Regions from separate parts of the Homo sapiens genome. Here all the other regions are linked to region 1. Evidence: promoter capture Hi-C in 16 types of primary human blood cells and fetal thymus (Javierre and others, 2016). All regions are on one chromosome and are shown on one strand. Each heading gives the region's core, a stretch centred on a gene start or on the middle of the fragment in contact. The rest is flanking DNA. Distances are from core to core; before and after follow the strand shown. Region 1 holds the start of PTK6 (protein tyrosine kinase 6). Region 2 holds the start of TCEA2 (transcription elongation factor A2). Region 3 holds the start of LKAAEAR1 (LKAAEAR motif containing 1).

Region 1 (2,738 bases), core at 59-2,558:
GAGCTGGGAGGGCCTGAGGGACACTGCCCAGGCCGGCACCCCGCTGCCCCTCCCCACCTTGGTCAGCGCTGAGCTGGGCTGCCCAGAAATCTATGAGCCTGTTAAATAATCCAGATTATTGTTCTTAATCTCAAAACAATGAGTGGAAGGTGCCATTATTTCTCTTTGCAATAAAAATAAAAGTTGAAATACGCAGTTTAGGGACTTTCCTTACCACCCCTTGCAGACTTTGAATTTCCCTTCCCGCCCCTTCCTGCCCCCTTGTGGCTGCCAGTCCAGGTCCCTGGGTTGGAGCTCCCGGGTGGACACAGTAGGGTCAGTGGGAGGGTGGGGCGGGGAGGGGCCTCCAGGGAGGGGGTGTCCCGAGTCTCAGGGGCTGGGGGGCAGGCGGCCGTCGGGTGCAGGTGGGGGTCACGGCAGGGCTCACTCAGGCATGAGTCGGGAGAAGGGAGGCCAGCTGGAAGGGGGCAGGGGTCCTGCGGGCTGGACAGGAGGAGGCAGAGGCTGGAGGCGGGAGGGGCTGCCTGGGAGGGACCTGTGGCCTTGGGCCCCAGCGCCATGGGCGCTTCCAGGCCGCACTCACGGTCCTTGCCTGCCCCCTGGCGTCCGTGTGGAGGAAGGCAGTGCCCGTTTCTTCAGCCGTGGGTGCCCCTGGCTCTGCCTCCCCGGGGATCCCCCAAAACCCTCGGGCCCTCCTCTTCCGGGAAGTCCTCCGGGCCGACCCACACAGCTGTCGCTGCCCTGATTCCACTCCCTCTTCCCTGCTTGGCCCTTACCCGAGGGCGGGCCTGCCCATGAGGCCGCTCTCAGGACGCCTGCCCACAGCAGCTCCTGACATTGGGCCCTGTGCTCAGGGGTGGAGTCTGGGGCTGGGTGAGGGCACCGACGGGTGGAGGGGAAGCTGCCGGAAGCGGGGAGAGAGGCGGCCCCCACCTGTGCCCCCGCAGCTCTGAGGGTTGGGAAGGCAGCGCCTGCAGCCCTCACCTTCCTGCCCTCAGGCTGCGAGGCTTGTTCCCAGAGGGCCGTTGGCTTCCCTGAGTGCCTGAGTGTCCATAAGTTGGACCCCCAAGAAGCCCCAACCGGGAGGTCCTCCTCCCCCTCTCCTGCGCTCAGGCCGGCCCTGGCGGTGCTTGCCCAGTGGGTTCCCATAGTGCGGGCGCTAAGTGCTCAGATGGGCCCCAGTGGGCCTGAGGACTTGTGGGGCCGGCTGGGCCCTCAGGAGGAGCCGGGGTGCTCTGGAGCGCCTGTGGGTGCTGGGTGTGGCTGCTTCCCGGCCTGTCATGAGGAAGTGGGACGGCCCGCCTGCCACGCCCAGCTCTGGGTGCTCCAGCTGGGCCACAGCCTGGTCCTGCCGCTGCGCCCGCCCGCCATGGTGTCCCGGGACCAGGCTCACCTGGGCCCCAAGTATGTGGGCCTCTGGGACTTCAAGTCCCGGACGGACGAGGAGCTGAGCTTCCGCGCGGGGGACGTCTTCCACGTGGCCAGGAAGGAGGAGCAGTGGTGGTGGGCCACGCTGCTGGACGAGGCGGGTGGGGCCGTGGCCCAGGGCTATGTGCCCCACAACTACCTGGCCGAGAGGGAGACGGTGGAGTCGGAACCGTGCGTGTCCTAGGCTGCTGGGAGCTTTGGCACAGGCCACCCTCTAGGCACAGGGGAGGGACAGGGCTCTGGGCTGCTCAGGGAGGCCCAAGAAGGTGGGGACCCCGGTTCCATCTTCCTGCACCCCAAAGTCCAGGCTGGGCATCCCGCTTGATCCTCCCTGCAGGCCCCATGCGCTGGCGCCCAGGAGTGCCCAGGACTGTCCCTGCGGGAGTTGGAGCACGGGGGTCAGAGGGCACGGCCCCTGCCTTGGGCTCATCCTTGTCACAGCTCGGGGGTGGACGCTGCATTGCCGGGACCCAGGGAGGACAGAGGGTCCAGGGTGGACTTCTGGGGCCCGGTGGCCAGTGACAAGGTCTGTCGGAGCGTTCCAGGGCCTTTGGGGGAAACGAAGCTTGAAGCTTGCCCAGTTTCCAAAGTGCCGGAACCAGACACACGACCTAGTTAGGGGAGCGGGCCGGCTGCCGGGCAAACTTCCTGCCTGCTGTGCCCTGCGGGGAACCAGACAGCAGCTGGTGTGGCCTGGCCCTGGCTTCCACAGCTGCCCGGAGCTCAGGCTGAGGAGGGTCACGCTCCTGAGATCCCGCGTTTCTCATCAGTGATTGGGCACCCACTGTGTGTGTGCGTGAGTCACAGGCTGTGTAGGGTTAGCTCCCGGGGGACCCAAGCAACAAGCAGGGGAGGCTGTAAAGAGGCCGTCGGGCAGGGGCCCATGGTGGAGACCCCTCTATTACGTGCAGACCCACGACCTCGTTAGCAGGGTCACGCGCAGACCCACGACCTCGTTAGTGAGCAGGGGTGCAGGGGTGGGGTCTGGCCGGAGGCTGGTCAGCTCCCAGGTGCAAAGACCCTGAGTCCTGAGAACTCGCCCAGGTGAGAAGTGGGGAGGAGGCCAGGTGAGGAGGGGGTGGGAGGCCAGGTGGGGGGGGGAGCGGGAGGCTAGGTGGGGGGGGCTGGAGGCCAGGTGAGGGGGGGCGGGAGGCCAGGTGGGGGGGGCGGGAGACCAGGAGAGGAGGGGACGGGAGGCCAGGAGAGGAGGGGGCGGGAGGCCAGGAGAGGAGGGGGCGGGAGGCCAGGTGAGGAGGGGGCGGGAGGCCAGGTGAGGGGGGGGCGGGAGGCCAGGTGAGGGGGGTGCGGGA
Region 2 (2,700 bases), core at 40-2,539, 530 kb before region 1:
CCAGGAGCTCCAAATGACCTGCGGCCAGACCCCTCCCCACCCCCCAGGAGGCAGGCAGCATCCTCTAAAGATGCTTCTGTGGGAGGGTGCAGAGGTTGCCAAGGTCATGACGCTGGAACTGGACCCCCACTGACCTGGCCCCTTCAAAGTCCTCACACACAGCCTCCTCCAAAGTCTCGCTGTGGCCGCAAGACAACAGAGGCCCAGGCCGCAGTGAACAGAGCCGGCCAGAGGCTCCAGCGCCCAGACACTCCCAGAGGAGGCTTGCCCGACCTCCTGGCTCTTATATAAGCACACCGGCTCTTTTCGGAGGGTGTCCACATAACTACCCACAACCCAAGTTGCTGCGGGCTAAGTCCTGGCTAAAGAAGGGAGAGAATTTATTAGAGAAACCTGGTTCTTGTGGGGTGGGGACAGACAGGGAAGAAAATGGGCCCACAGGCAAGACAGGTATCTGGCTGGCCTGTGAAGGAGGATGACAAGGGCTGGGAAGAGGCAGGGGAGGCACGGAAGCTCCAGAAGAAAAGGGGATCCAACCTCAGACTCCAAACTGTTGCCGGCGACAAATGCTATGGGAGACGGAGGGTGACAAACGCTGTAAGAGACGGAGCGTGGGAGAGGGCTGAGTTGGGGGGCGGGGCTCGGCCTGTGAGGATGCCCAGGCCGGGATGGAGGAAGGCAAGGGGCTGGCGCGGCCCGCAGAGGAGGCCCGAACACCCCGGGGGCTCCGAGAGGCGGGACAGGGCCAAGGAAGGAGTCGACGGGCCAGGCTGGGGGTCTGGAGTTAAGGGACAGGGAAGGGTGCGGAGCCTGTGACTGCGGGCGAGGGAGGGGTCTGAGTCCAGAGCGGGTGGCTCTCCCGGGACAAGGTCCAGGCCTGATCGCGGCCTCTGCCGGGGTTGCGGGAGTGAACGGCAGGGCTGGCCCGGGGCAGGGGTCTCGGCCACGGGTGGGGGTCTCCCCTGCGTCCCGGTTAGTCTCTGCCGGGGAGGGGTCTCGTCCTGCCCCTCAGGTCGTCTTCCGGCCCTAACGGGGGTCGGCGGGCTCGACGGGGTCTCGGCGGGGCGGGGTTCCCGGGGTCCTGGCGGCCCGCGCCCCTCACCGCGCTCTTCTTGGTCACCATCTTGTCCAGCCTCCGGGCGATCCGCGCAATCTCCTCTTCCTTGCCCATCATCGCCTCAGGAGCAGCGACCCCCGCGCCCGTCGCGCCCGCCTCCGCAGCCGGGCAGGACCCCGGCCCCGGCCGTCGCCACCTCCCACACCCGCCGCAGCCGACGCAGCCCCGCCGCGGACGACAGACCCCCGGTTCAAACCCTCGGCCCCGCGGCCGCGCGCGGCATCCTAGGATGCGTAGTCCACGCGCCCGCCTGCCGCGCCCGCCGCGCCCGCGCTCTGGACCACAACTCCCAGGCGCCACGCGGCGCGCACAGCCTCCTGGGAAGTGTAGTCCTGACCCACCGTCGCCAGTGACTCGTGATCCCACAATACCCCGCGAGGGAGGCGCCCCGGGCACGCCCCTCCCAGAGCTCAGACATCCCGGAGCGACCGGGCCCCAGGAGGCCCAGGAATCTGCTCCCTTCTCTCCTCCTGCTTCGGGCCTTGCTGTCCCGCGGCGTCCTTCGGTGGGTGGCTCAGGACCCAGTGCCCTCAGCCCTTCTCTTGGGCCCCGCTGAGCCCTGCGCGCGCCCCACTTGGCCTAGAAGGCCGTCCCCAGCCTCCCAGAGCCCAGTTTGGGTCATTCGGGCTTCTGAGTAGAGTTACTTCTTCAAGAGGCCCGCGCACACTGGGAGGCCTCTTGTGGGGCCCTGCAGGTGTGAGCGCGCGGTAGCTGGACGTGGCGTCTGGAAGGGGCCATTGCTGGGGTTCGCGAAGTGCGGGGGCCTCTGCCGAGGCTGCGTGGGCAAGGCCCCTGCCTGCAAAGTCAGCTACCAGGGAGCAGATTCTGGGCTCTGCACGTTGACCACTGTGTCTCAGTCTCCCCACCTGTGAAACTGGAGTTAAGTGTCCGCCTCACAGGGCTCCCGTCAAGATGATGTCAGCTGATTCACATCACATGCCTGAGAACAGAGAGGGGATGGAGCATGACAATTAGTGTTCATTGACATTGTTGTTGGAGGTCCCTAGGTAGGGCCAGACTGCAGGCAGCCAGAGAGATGGCCCAGGCCTAGGGAGGGTTGAGGACGGGGACAGGTGCAGGGCCAGCATCCCCACCACTGCCTGGCAGCTCCCCAGTAATGCAGATGCTGGGTGGTTTCCTGGAGAGGGCACAATCCTGGGGGAGGGTGTGGATCAAGGAGCCTGTAGTCATTCAAGTTCAGGCCAACGAACTATGAGGCCAGGTGGCAGGTGGAATGGGCTGAGCATTTCTTGGGCTGTCTGTGGCACTAATCACATATAACTGAGCTTCCCCGCAGCCAAAATGAAAAGGAAAATATGGTCAGTTAAGAGACTCATCTTAGCCGGGCAATAGTGGCTCATGCCTGTAATCCCAGCGCTTTGGGAGGCCCAGGCGGGTGGATCACCTGAGGTCAGGAGTTCGAGACCAGCCTGGCCAATATGGTGAAACCCCGTCTCTACAAAGAATACAAAAACTAGCCAGGTGTGGTGCCGGGCACCTGTAATCTCAGCTACTTGGGAGGCTAAGGCAGGAGAATTGCTGGAACCCGGAAGGCGGAGGTTGCAGTGAGCCAAGATAGCACC
Region 3 (2,700 bases), core at 112-2,611, 550 kb before region 1:
GGACAGCCCTACTCCCAAACTCACAGGTTCCAAACTCCCAGCAAGGTGTCCCAGCGGCAGGTCTGTGAATATAGAGAGAGTACAGACATCTCGTGGAAGTAATAGATACGTAACAGATTGGACTTTTTGCACTAATTTTTGCCTAATTTAAACTGTGGAATAAGCACGTGAATTAGGAAATTCTAGAACACACTTATGAGTGCCTGAAGAAATTATAAAATGATTAAGTAGTTAATTGAGAATTAGTTACAAAACAAAGGAATGCACAAATAGATTTCCAAAATCTAGTATCTAGGACCCAAGATCCCAAGACACAGTGTTCAGCAAAACCCAGCTCTAGTCCTGGGGACACCAGGACCCCTGAGACCCCAAACTTGCCCTAGAAGAGGTGAGGGGTCCTGAGTTCTGCCCCATTATCCCTTTCTGTGAACACCAGTGGCTGGGGCCAGAGCCCCCTGGCCATCAGAAGGGAATGGGCCTTAACCACAAAGGTCTCCTCATAGCCGAGGGCCCCACCCACAAAACTAACCCCAAAGACCCCTCAAGCCAGGAACCTGGGCCCACAACCCCTAGGATGGCGCGTCTGCGGCCGCCTGGAAAGGACGCTCACCCAAGCTGGAGAAGCCGGCTCTATGCCTCTATGCCCCAATGACCCCTATGAGGGGCGCGTCCACGCCCAGACTCTAACCCAGGGCCCTCCGGAGGGGACCCTGCCCCCCGCCACGACCCGCCCCACCTGGTCGAGGGAGGGGCAGGACTCCCGGTTGCTGGGCAACCGCGTCAACAAGCCCAAAGAGTCTGGGCTACGGCGGAGGTTCTTCCGACCAGAGAAGGCAGCAAGCAGGGGGTGTAGGGACCAAGAGGTGGGGGCTGGGCCTCGGCTGCAGGAGCTAAGGAGGGGCGGGGGCGTTAGCCGCCGCTGGGGCTGGCCGTGGCTCTGCCTCTGGCACAGCGAGCCCAGCCCTGGCTGGACAAGGTGGCAGCTGTAGGCTGGGGCCGGGAAGGGAGGAGCCAGCTGGGCTTTTGGACCCTCCCTCCTCTGTCACCTGCCCTCTAGGCTCTGCTCCCCACAACCATCTAGGCCTCGAAGGGCAAGAGCGAGCTGTCTGGTGGGAGACCCTGACTGTCGGGGACCGCAGACATAGGGGCACAACGAAGGTCCCCCAGGCGTCACCTAGAGCTCTCCATGTGGCAGGGCCTGAGATCAACCCAGTGGGGTCTCAGCATTTTCTCAATTCAAACAGAACAGTCCATCGGGTAGGAAAGATATTTCCTACAACTGAGTTGATCAGAAAGTCCTAGTTGACTGCAGGACTGAGCAGGATCAGCCGATGGCAGAGCTGCTGGGGACGTGCGCTTGGGAGAGGGAGAGCGCCTGGGCAAAGCTCAGAGGCTGGGGGTGCGGAACTCAAAACCGACTGCGGAGAGCCCAGCGGGCGGGAGCTGGGGCGCACGTTGGGGCCCTGCCGAGGGGCGGGCAGGGCCCGGTGCCAGCCCCGGCACCGACGGGACGCCCTCCTCCCTCCGCAGGGCGGGAGGATGCCGCCGCCAGCGAAGGAGGGCGGGCGCAAGGGCCCGCGGGAGCGAAGCGGGAAGAGCGCGCCAGGCACGGCGCAGGGTGAGGAGCGTGCCAAGGGGGCGCCCGCGACAGAGCCCCCCAAGCCGGGCTGGGCCCTGACGCCGCAGGGACTGGCGGCCATGCTCCCTGCGCAGCGCCACCGCCATCTGCTCTTCGGCGACCTGCTGGAGGACGTGGGCGCGGCGGCCTCCACCTTCCCGTGCGGGTCGGTGGAACCGGGGTACCGCATGCCCGACCCGCGCCCGTGGACGCAGTCGCTCGAGCTGCCCGCCGAGCGCCAGAACCGGCTCCTCGGCGTCCTCAAGGCAGCGGAGGCCCGCGGGCGAGTCCGCGCCCTGCGGCTGCGCTACACCCGCATGCGGGTGAGGCGAGGGGGTCGGAGGGCAGAGGGGGCGCACCGGGAGCGTTGAGCGGAGCCGGCCGGGGCGGGGCGGGGCGGGGCTCGGCGCGCGCTCAGCTACCCGGGCCCCGCAGGCCGAGGAGATCGCGCTGCTCATCCAGCGGCAGAAGTCCGCGCGCGCCGCCATCCGGCTGGAGCTGTTCCTGCCGCCGCAGCTGAAGCCCGCGCGGATCCCGGACCCCCTGGACCGCCAAGAGGTGCAGACAAGCCCCGGTAGGGGCGGGGAAAGGGGAGGGGCCCTGCCCGCCTCCGCACACGCCGGACCCCAGCCTCTCTCCCCGGCAGCGGAGGCGCGTGGAGACCATCCTGGAGGAGAACGTGGATGGCACCATCTTCCCGCGGTGACGGCGACTGAGAGTGTGCGACGCGCCCCAGCCTCCCACATAAAGTTATAATTCTCCGAAGGCTCGCTGGTCTTTTTGCTGCCACTCCCCAGGACCCCGAGGGAAGCGGGGAGTATGGACGCTGCCTCTCCCATGCACCTCACAGACATCAGGGTACAGAGAGTGGGGCCTCTCCCAAAAAAGTGGGGAGACGCAAGTGGGTGGGTGTGAAAGTAACAGGTCAGGGACACGCCTACCCCTAATCCCGATCTGCCCCCCACTGGCAACCTGGCGTTCTGTGGGTCTATGGGAGGCCCCCAGTCTTGGGGAGGACGGAGAAAGAGCCTGTTTCAGCAGAAGTCACCCCCAGATGTAAGGGTAGCCTCAGGCTGCAGTGG

Evidence for each region. Contacts are between HindIII fragments. The CHiCAGO score rates a contact against its expected background, and 5 or more counts as called.
Region 2: a contact is called between the fragment with the promoter of TCEA2 here and the fragment with the promoter of PTK6 in region 1, in 6 of 17 cell types (endothelial precursors, activated CD4 T cells, total CD8 T cells and 3 more). The highest score is 10.1, in endothelial precursors.
Region 3: the fragment with the promoter of LKAAEAR1 here is called in contact with the fragment with the promoter of PTK6 in region 1 in 7 of 17 cell types (M0 macrophages, endothelial precursors, fetal thymus and 4 more); the score reaches 10.5 in M0 macrophages.

The regions. Positions count from the first base shown.
Region 1 is chr20:63,535,946-63,538,683 of GRCh38, reverse strand. It overlaps PTK6 (protein tyrosine kinase 6), which reads left to right and starts at 1,308. Exons shown (of 8, transcript NM_005975.4): 1 at 1,308-1,599. The coding sequence starts at 1,370. It overlaps SRMS (src-related kinase lacking C-terminal regulatory tyrosine and N-terminal myristylation sites), which reads left to right. Exons shown (of 8, transcript NM_080823.4): 8 at 1-195. RefSeq lists silencers at 250-519, 850-999 and an enhancer at 1,120-1,209. The HindIII fragment of the contact is 2,955 bases long and covers 1-1,995 here.
Region 2 is chr20:64,061,787-64,064,486 of GRCh38, reverse strand. TCEA2 (transcription elongation factor A2) reads right to left here and starts at 1,289. Exons shown (of 10, transcript NM_003195.6): 1 at 1,103-1,289. The coding sequence starts at 1,174. RefSeq lists a silencer at 1,029-1,388 and enhancers at 1,719-1,768, 1,779-1,908. The HindIII fragment of the contact is 9,862 bases long and covers 1-2,700 here.
Region 3 is chr20:64,083,059-64,085,758 of GRCh38, reverse strand. It overlaps LKAAEAR1 (LKAAEAR motif containing 1), which reads left to right and starts at 1,361. Exons shown (of 3, transcript NM_001353425.2): 1 at 1,361-1,941; 2 at 2,054-2,176; 3 at 2,265-2,383. The coding sequence starts at 1,540. The coding sequence ends at 2,324. The region is part of intron 1 of OPRL1 (opioid related nociceptin receptor 1); the gene reads right to left. RefSeq lists silencers at 1,949-2,028, 2,209-2,268. The HindIII fragment of the contact is 5,360 bases long and covers 1-2,700 here.